Regions from separate parts of the Homo sapiens genome. Here region 2 is linked to region 1. The links are contacts of gene promoters, found by promoter capture Hi-C in blood cells and fetal thymus (Javierre and others, 2016). All regions are on one chromosome and are shown on one strand. Each heading gives the region's core, a stretch centred on a gene start or on the middle of the fragment in contact. The rest is flanking DNA. Distances are from core to core; before and after follow the strand shown.

Region 1 (3,596 bases), core at 357-2,856:
GTCAGAGCCTCTCCCAATCTTAGTTTATCAACTCAGTTCTTGATAACCTATTTTTAGCTTCAGTATTTACAGATATTGTCTTAAGCAACATTCTTGTTTCTTAAGCTCCTGCTTTAATTAGCCAATACCAAAAAACTCCCACAAAAAAAAAAAAAAAACAAGAAAATATGGTATTTGCAGTGGGGCGTTTTAAGCAAGAAGGGGCTTTAAGCACAACACTCATAAGCTTAGTCATCAGGATTAAGTTAATTTAGGGCAAATTCAACCTTACAGTCAACAAATAAGTGTATTTCACTTTATATTGTTTGCTATTTAAAAGTATTAAAATTCCAGCTTCTAAATGTAGATATCCATCCCCCAAACATATGCTTCTTTAAAATAGGAAGAACACAAACTTTAATAAGAACTCACGTATTCCCTTGCAGAGTCAGAAACCCAAACATAACAGCAATTGGGCAAGTAGGTAAATGAGGAAGTACAATTCATAACAAATGGACAGCAAAACCGATAAGTCAAATTAGACATTTTGACTATAAAGCGACCAAACGCCTCTCCTCCAAAACCAAAAGCCAAAACCTTTTCAAATATACAGCAACTGAATCAGACGGTAATTTTGGCTTTAAAAATCTACAATACTCTTGGTAATGGTAGAAATGATTTATCCGGTAGGTTAAAGATAGGTTTCTATCATTCCACTTAACATTATTTACCAAATGCTGCATTTCATTAATGGAGCTGTCAGTTTATTCTGATGGTAATGAAAAACAGGTTTTAACATGAATAAGCCCTGGGTCCACCAGAAAATATCAGTGAATCAAGAGGTCCCGAAGCTTATGCAGTTTAAGGGAACTTCGTAGATTAAATTTCCACCTTCCAGTCCTGAGAGCTGTGGTGTGCACACCCAGTCCGAATACCTTGTTGAGCATACAGGACACTAATTTCCGACACTGCAGCTAACTCCTGCACAAACTCTTCAAGTTGCAGGCTTCTACTCAAGTACCCATCCCTAGTCCACATGCCCTAGAAAAACACAGGAACCAGTTCGGGACGTAGTTACACATCTAGCACCCCACGCTCCTCCTCAAGACTATCCTCCTGCTGTCCCAGCCCAGTGGGGCCCAGCCCACTACCATCCCGCTCCCGCTCTCCGAACTTCCCCCCTCCCACTCCCCACCATGTGACCAGGACCCTCCCAACCGCCGCTCCGAGCTCCACCAATCAGCAACCACCTCCACCCAGAACCCGGGACCTGGCGCTCCACTTTCAAAAAGGCAGCTTAATCCTCCCGCCCTCAGCCACGCCCCCTTTCCGCTTCCCCGCCCCGCCGGCCCCTCCCACTTCCTTCAGTTCCCTGTTCCCCTCCTCCCCTCCGGTGGCGCCCACCCTCTCCCGGGCTTCGCCCCGCCCACCAGGGGGGCAGCGCGCTCGCCCTCTTCTCGCGAGATCTGAGCGTCCCCCGCGGCGGCCGCCGGGCTCCCCCTCCCGTCCTCCCACCTCCCTCCCCCGGCATCTCTCACTCTCCGGCTCTCCTCCCTCCCTCCTCCCCCCTCCACCCTCTGGGCCGGATCTCGTCTCGCTCAGGCGGAGGAGGAGAAGGAGGAGGAGGAGGACGACGTTCGGCCTGCGCAGTGAGATGTTTGTCCGTCGCCGCCGCCGCCGCCATCGCGGAGGAGCGCGATAAAGGGAGCCGAGCCGGACGTGAGGGGGACCCCGCGGAGCCGCCGCGCCAGCGCAGCCCCCCAGCCGCATCGGAGTCGCCAGAGTCCGAGCCGCCGCCGCCGCCGCCGCCGCCCCCGCCGCCGCCGCGGCTGCCCAGGGGCCGGCCAGCTCCCCAGCCCTGCCCGGGGGTCGCGCCGCCGCCGCCCCCAGCGTCGCCCCTAGCCTGCCTGCCCGCCTTAAATGTGACACCGGCGTCGCGGAGCGCGACCTGAAGCCGCCGCCGGGGAGGGGACGAGCACCATGTCGAATCTGAGCAAAGGCACGGGCAGCCGGAAGGACACCAAGATGCGGATCCGGGCCTTTCCGGTGAGTCTCTCCTCGGCGTCCGGGACCCCGGGGCCGGGGGCCGGGCCGAGAGCCGCACGCGAGGCCCGGGCTGAAGTCCCCCAACAGGCCGCAGGCCCGGCCTCCCCTCCCCCACGCCCGCCGGCCGCGGGGCGCGAGCCTTCCCGGCAACCGGGCGGCGCGGGGCCCCGGCGCGGCCGCCCTCCCGGGCCGTTCCCCGCGCCGGGAGCCCGGGCCTGGCGCCGCGCCCCCGTCCGGGAGCTGCTCCTTCAGCCGCTCCGCGGGCGTCGGCTGCGGCCGGGGCCCCTCGGCCGCCCCACGCCTCCCCACGTTGCCGGGGTTGTAGGCCCAGTCTCCGGCGCTGCTAGCAGCCGCGGAGTCCTCCCTGTGTGGGGCGTGTGTGGAACTTTTCACGTGGGGTTTCGCTACACTTTGAAAATTTACCCAGCCTAGCTTTTAGGGTGATGAAGGGGCTGCCCTCTCTCTCTGCCCCCCTCCCCAGGAAGGTCTATGCCATCAACCTGCCCCCGACGCAGTGACAGTGGTTCCACGGAATGCTCCGTGGTCATAAACTAGTAACATTGGGTGTATTTATAGCGTCTTTCATCCTACAAGCTTCCTAAGCACTTTACAAACTCTTGTGCAGGATTGCCTCGCCACTCGGAGGAAGGCCGGGTGGGGGGGAAGCAACAGAGAGCAAACCGGCCAATTGGTTCTCCATTTCTCAGCCTTGGGAGCCCAAAGAATGAGTGTAGTCGCCTTGCGGAGTAGCTTTGTTTCATCGCTTTCAGTGACAGCAAACGTGTTCTGCTCAGAAACTTTTTCTTTTTTGGCATTACGTTGAGTCGTACCCTTGCGATGTTTAGTATATAGGATATAACTTTGGGTGTCAAATCTGGTTCAGCTTCCCCGTGGCAAGCAATTAAAATGTACTGTTAACGAACTGGGCATACTTGCCTATGTCGCTACAATAAAAGGCATACGTCAAGACAGACGAACTAGCAATCGGACAGAAGATTTTAAAAAGTAAAATTAGAGAAAGATCTTGGTCTTCCCTTCTTAGATTCATAAATACTTCATATGATGTACCAGCGAAAGAGGGGGATTTGTTGTCACTTTTTAAAGCATGCTTTTCCTGAAGCGCAGTTGCAGTGAGGAAAGACTTACCTTGATGTGATTGCCCCAGTTGAGTCAAGTGATTTAGTTTCAGAGAACATGAGGACCTCTCTGAATTCCTAAAATTTAAAAGGATACACCTCATGCAGAATTCTGAAATTGTAAGAACATAAATACTAAAGTCAGTGTGCGAAAACCTCTGCTTTGTGTAAATAGGTACGATGGAATTTAGGAGAATAAGTGTTTTGATAATAATTAAAGATTTTTTGAATGTTTCAAACTTTTTTCTAAGTAAACGTGAGAAATGTTGACAAGCGAGTACTAACGAAGCTTACTAGTATGTTTTCCCTTATAATTGGGCAGAGCTGGGTTATGCATTTGTGAGTGATATTAATTTTCCTACTAAATTCTGACCACTTTAGAGTTTAGAATTACTTAGAATTTTATGAAGTTAATAGTTGTATACAACAGATTTT
Region 2 (3,468 bases), core at 32-2,531, 1.9 Mb after region 1:
CGATCTCTTGACCTTGTAATCCACCCACCTCGGCCTCCCGAAGTGCTGGGAATACAAGCGTGAGCCACCACGCCCAGCCTCTTCCTCTTCTTTGATAGGTAAAGGGTATGCAGTTACTTACCCAGAATCTCACAGCAAGCATCACATACCCTCAAGGCTCTCGGGTCCTACATCTAGAGCATGGGGTCTGGCCAGAGGACCCAGCATTACTGTGCTAAGCCCCACCACTCGCCATCAGGGTTGCTTCAAGCACAGTTTTTAACCCCTTGGAGCCCCAGTCTATAGGATAAAAACAGTACCAACCTCCTAGGGATATTTTAAGAGCTAAATATCACAACATACATAAAATATTTAACCCTGTATCTGGCACCTTTTAGATAATTGATTGGCAAATGTTGACTATTGTTTTATATGTTAACATAATGCATACTTAGTTTTATGCTACAGTATTAATAAAATACTGGGAAAAATTAAAGTCAAGCAGTAGTTTACACTGTAATACAACAGCATGTTCTTTATCCAATAAAATACTTCTTCTTTTTTTTTTTTTTTTTTCAAGATGGCGTCTTGCTCCGTCACCCAGGCTGGAGTGCAGTGGTGCGATCTCGGCTCACTGCAACCTCCGTCTCCTGGGTTCCAGCAGTTCTCCTGTCTTAGGCTCCAGAGTAGCTGGGATTACAGGCACCTGCCACCACGCCTGGCTAATTTTTGTATTTTTAGTAGAGACGGGGTTTCACCTTGTTGGTCAGGCTGGTTTCCAACTGCTGACCTCAGGTGATCCACCCACCTCAGCCTCCCAAAGTGCTGGGATTACAGGAGTGAGCCACTGTATCTGGCTAAAATACTTTAAAAAGAGTATTGAAAACACTGATTTTGATGATGAACACCAGGAACACAAACAGGCCTCACAAATCAAGGTAGAAGCTTCGTCCTACAAGGCGCTGACATCCAAAGGGAGGCAACTTCATTCTTGACCCAGAAAGGAATTTCACTTTTACCTTCTTCCATTGTTTTGGCTAGTGTCTGACTGACTAGATTTTATACCACAGCTTTATTGAGATATAATTCACATACCATCAAATTTACCCACTTAAAAAGGAGAATTTCAGGGGGGTAGTATATTCGCAGCATTGTGCAACCATGACCATGATTAATTTTAGAACATTTTTCATCACCCCAAAAGAAACCCCATGCCCATTAGCAGTGATTGACTTGATTTGTAATTTTCAATCTTTTCTACTAGTTTTTGAATATTTCTGAATCCGAGGAGCCTCTTTGTTTCTCCAGGCACATGAGACCACGGCAGTTGGCGGACTCGTTTCCTCCTGCCAGCCCCAGTTCTTCTTTCATTCCTGTCCACCTGCAGTTGTCAGTTAACCCCGCCCCCGCTTTCTGCTGTATTTTATATTCCATCAAGAGAATTTAAAGTACTGACTCCTCACTCTGACAATTTGCAATTCTCACAGTTTCACACCAGTTTCCTCGCCGATATTCATCCTCAAGTCTAAATTAATTCAGCCTCGCCAAAGTGTGGGAGATGAAAAACATTCTATCCAGGTTGAAAGCCACACTCATACATTATCACTCAGGCATAAAAACACATTTATTGGTCAAAACTTTTACAAATGGAAAGCTTTTAAAAAACATACCACAACGAATCCCATATAGAAAATATACAAATTTCACAGTCTCCTATAAAGATTTTAACAAGTAATAAACAGTGTTATTCCATAGTTTTGAATGATAGAAAGGAGGAAACTTCTGAGATAAATTCCACCTATTTTTATTTAGGGAATTAAATTTTTTCTCAGAAACACATGACTAAATATTATTGTGATCCTAGAGAAATTCCAGTAGCAATTTGTTTCATATATATATATATTTATATAATTTGTTTTATATATATATAAAACGTGTGCATGTGTGTGCATGTATGTGTATATGCACATATACACACATACATACACCAAGAAAGTGAGATAATCATTTCAGCTCACTGCATTTCTTGGAGGAACAGAAATAAGTGACAAAGGCGGAGGAAAAGGCAGAGTTATCAGGTAAACCTACACCTCCAATTAGATGTTATTGCCTTGACAGATAAAAGGCCAGGCAGAGACCATAAGATACAGGCAGAAATGACCTGGAGGATCATTCACTCCCAACTCTATTTACCTAGGAAAGAACAGAGTCCAGGTTACCTAGCCAATTACTAGAAGATCAGAGGCTGAAGGACTATCTAAAACAGAAGGCTGGAGAGTAGAAAAATGTGGCAACCAGGTTCTAGTTCTCTGATTGTCCCCACATCACTGCAAACCCACATTGCAGGGTCTGGAATCCAACCAGAAAGATCTAAGGCTCCAAGTTGGTCTGGAAATGGAGTAGGAGAGAATTAAGCAGGCTTGGGGAACGCCAGCAACATCAGGTTCATGTCTGTTCTCAAGAGAGCCTAAGATGATTCTTAACCAGAATCTAAGAGCTATTAAAAAAAAAAAAAAAAAAGCAGCTGTGATAACTCAGCTGAATGAGGCTGGAGCCAGAATTGAGTCTGGGCTTAGTACCATCAATGAGGTGACAGAAGCTCGGCCTCCACCTCTGTCTGAGTAATAGGATTGCTCTGGCCTGCTCTAATGATCACAACACGACTGATGGAAGATTTTTTTCTGGGTCTGTCAGTTGTCATGGGCATATGACACCTTGCCTTATTCACTGCTCCAATACACAAGGCTCTCGAGGCTAAACTTGTTGTTGAAAACTTGGACTTTTCCCAAGACACAGCACCAAAATAGCTCTTACAAAAGGGAAAAATCAACAACGTGGTGTACCGGCCCCCAAAAAGAAAAATGTTCTCAATGCCAATAAGACAGCTTGATTCTGCACTGTTTAATCCCTTGCTTCAAGTGGATTTTTAATTACGCTCTACTTTTTTTTGACACTTCTGTTTTATAGGAGGATTTTTAGGTTTATTAATCAGCAATCATGGACTAGGAGTACCTCCTGCTCAATCTAGGGAAGAGTAATAGGAACATGGAGTCACTTTTAATCTGCATGAAACTTCACTAGGGTTCAACTGCTTCATCGGCAGAAGGAATAATTAGACAGATGATGAAGTCCCTTCTAGTGCTAAAACTTGGCTTCTTTGACACAATCCACCAGATTTCCAGGTTAGTGCCACAAACATTCCCCAAGAGACTACTAGAGACCTCCTCTGTTGGGGTCAGGATTGAAATGAAAACAAGACACAGATTCTGCTACTGAAGAACTCATTATCCTATGGGTTAACATGGATTGAGATCAACTTTCTCCTTTTGATATAAGATAGTAAGGCACTAAGCTGGAGGTGTTTGGGAAGGATTGACTATAACAAAAAAATATAAGGTACTAGAGAAATCTCTTTGTTTTAAATATAAATAACTGCTTCTGTGTTTGCAATCCTAGAGAAACAGAACAACTGGGTGGTTATTTTAGAAG

The links. Contacts are between HindIII fragments. The CHiCAGO score rates a contact against its expected background, and 5 or more counts as called.
Region 2: a fragment that was not itself captured here is called in contact with the fragment with the promoter of CUL3 in region 1 in 1 of 17 cell types (M0 macrophages); the score reaches 5.1 in M0 macrophages.

The regions. Positions count from the first base shown.
Region 1 is chr2:224,583,373-224,586,968 of GRCh38, reverse strand. It overlaps CUL3 (cullin 3), which reads left to right and starts at 1,606. Exons shown (of 16, transcript NM_003590.5): 1 at 1,606-2,025. The coding sequence starts at 1,960. RefSeq lists silencers at 1,133-1,552, 1,883-2,142. The HindIII fragment of the contact is 1,789 bases long and covers 833-2,621 here.
Region 2 is chr2:222,713,816-222,717,283 of GRCh38, reverse strand. No RefSeq gene overlaps it. Among named protein-coding and RNA genes, the nearest start is that of MOGAT1, 44 kb to the right of the region's middle. The HindIII fragment of the contact is 709 bases long and covers 927-1,635 here.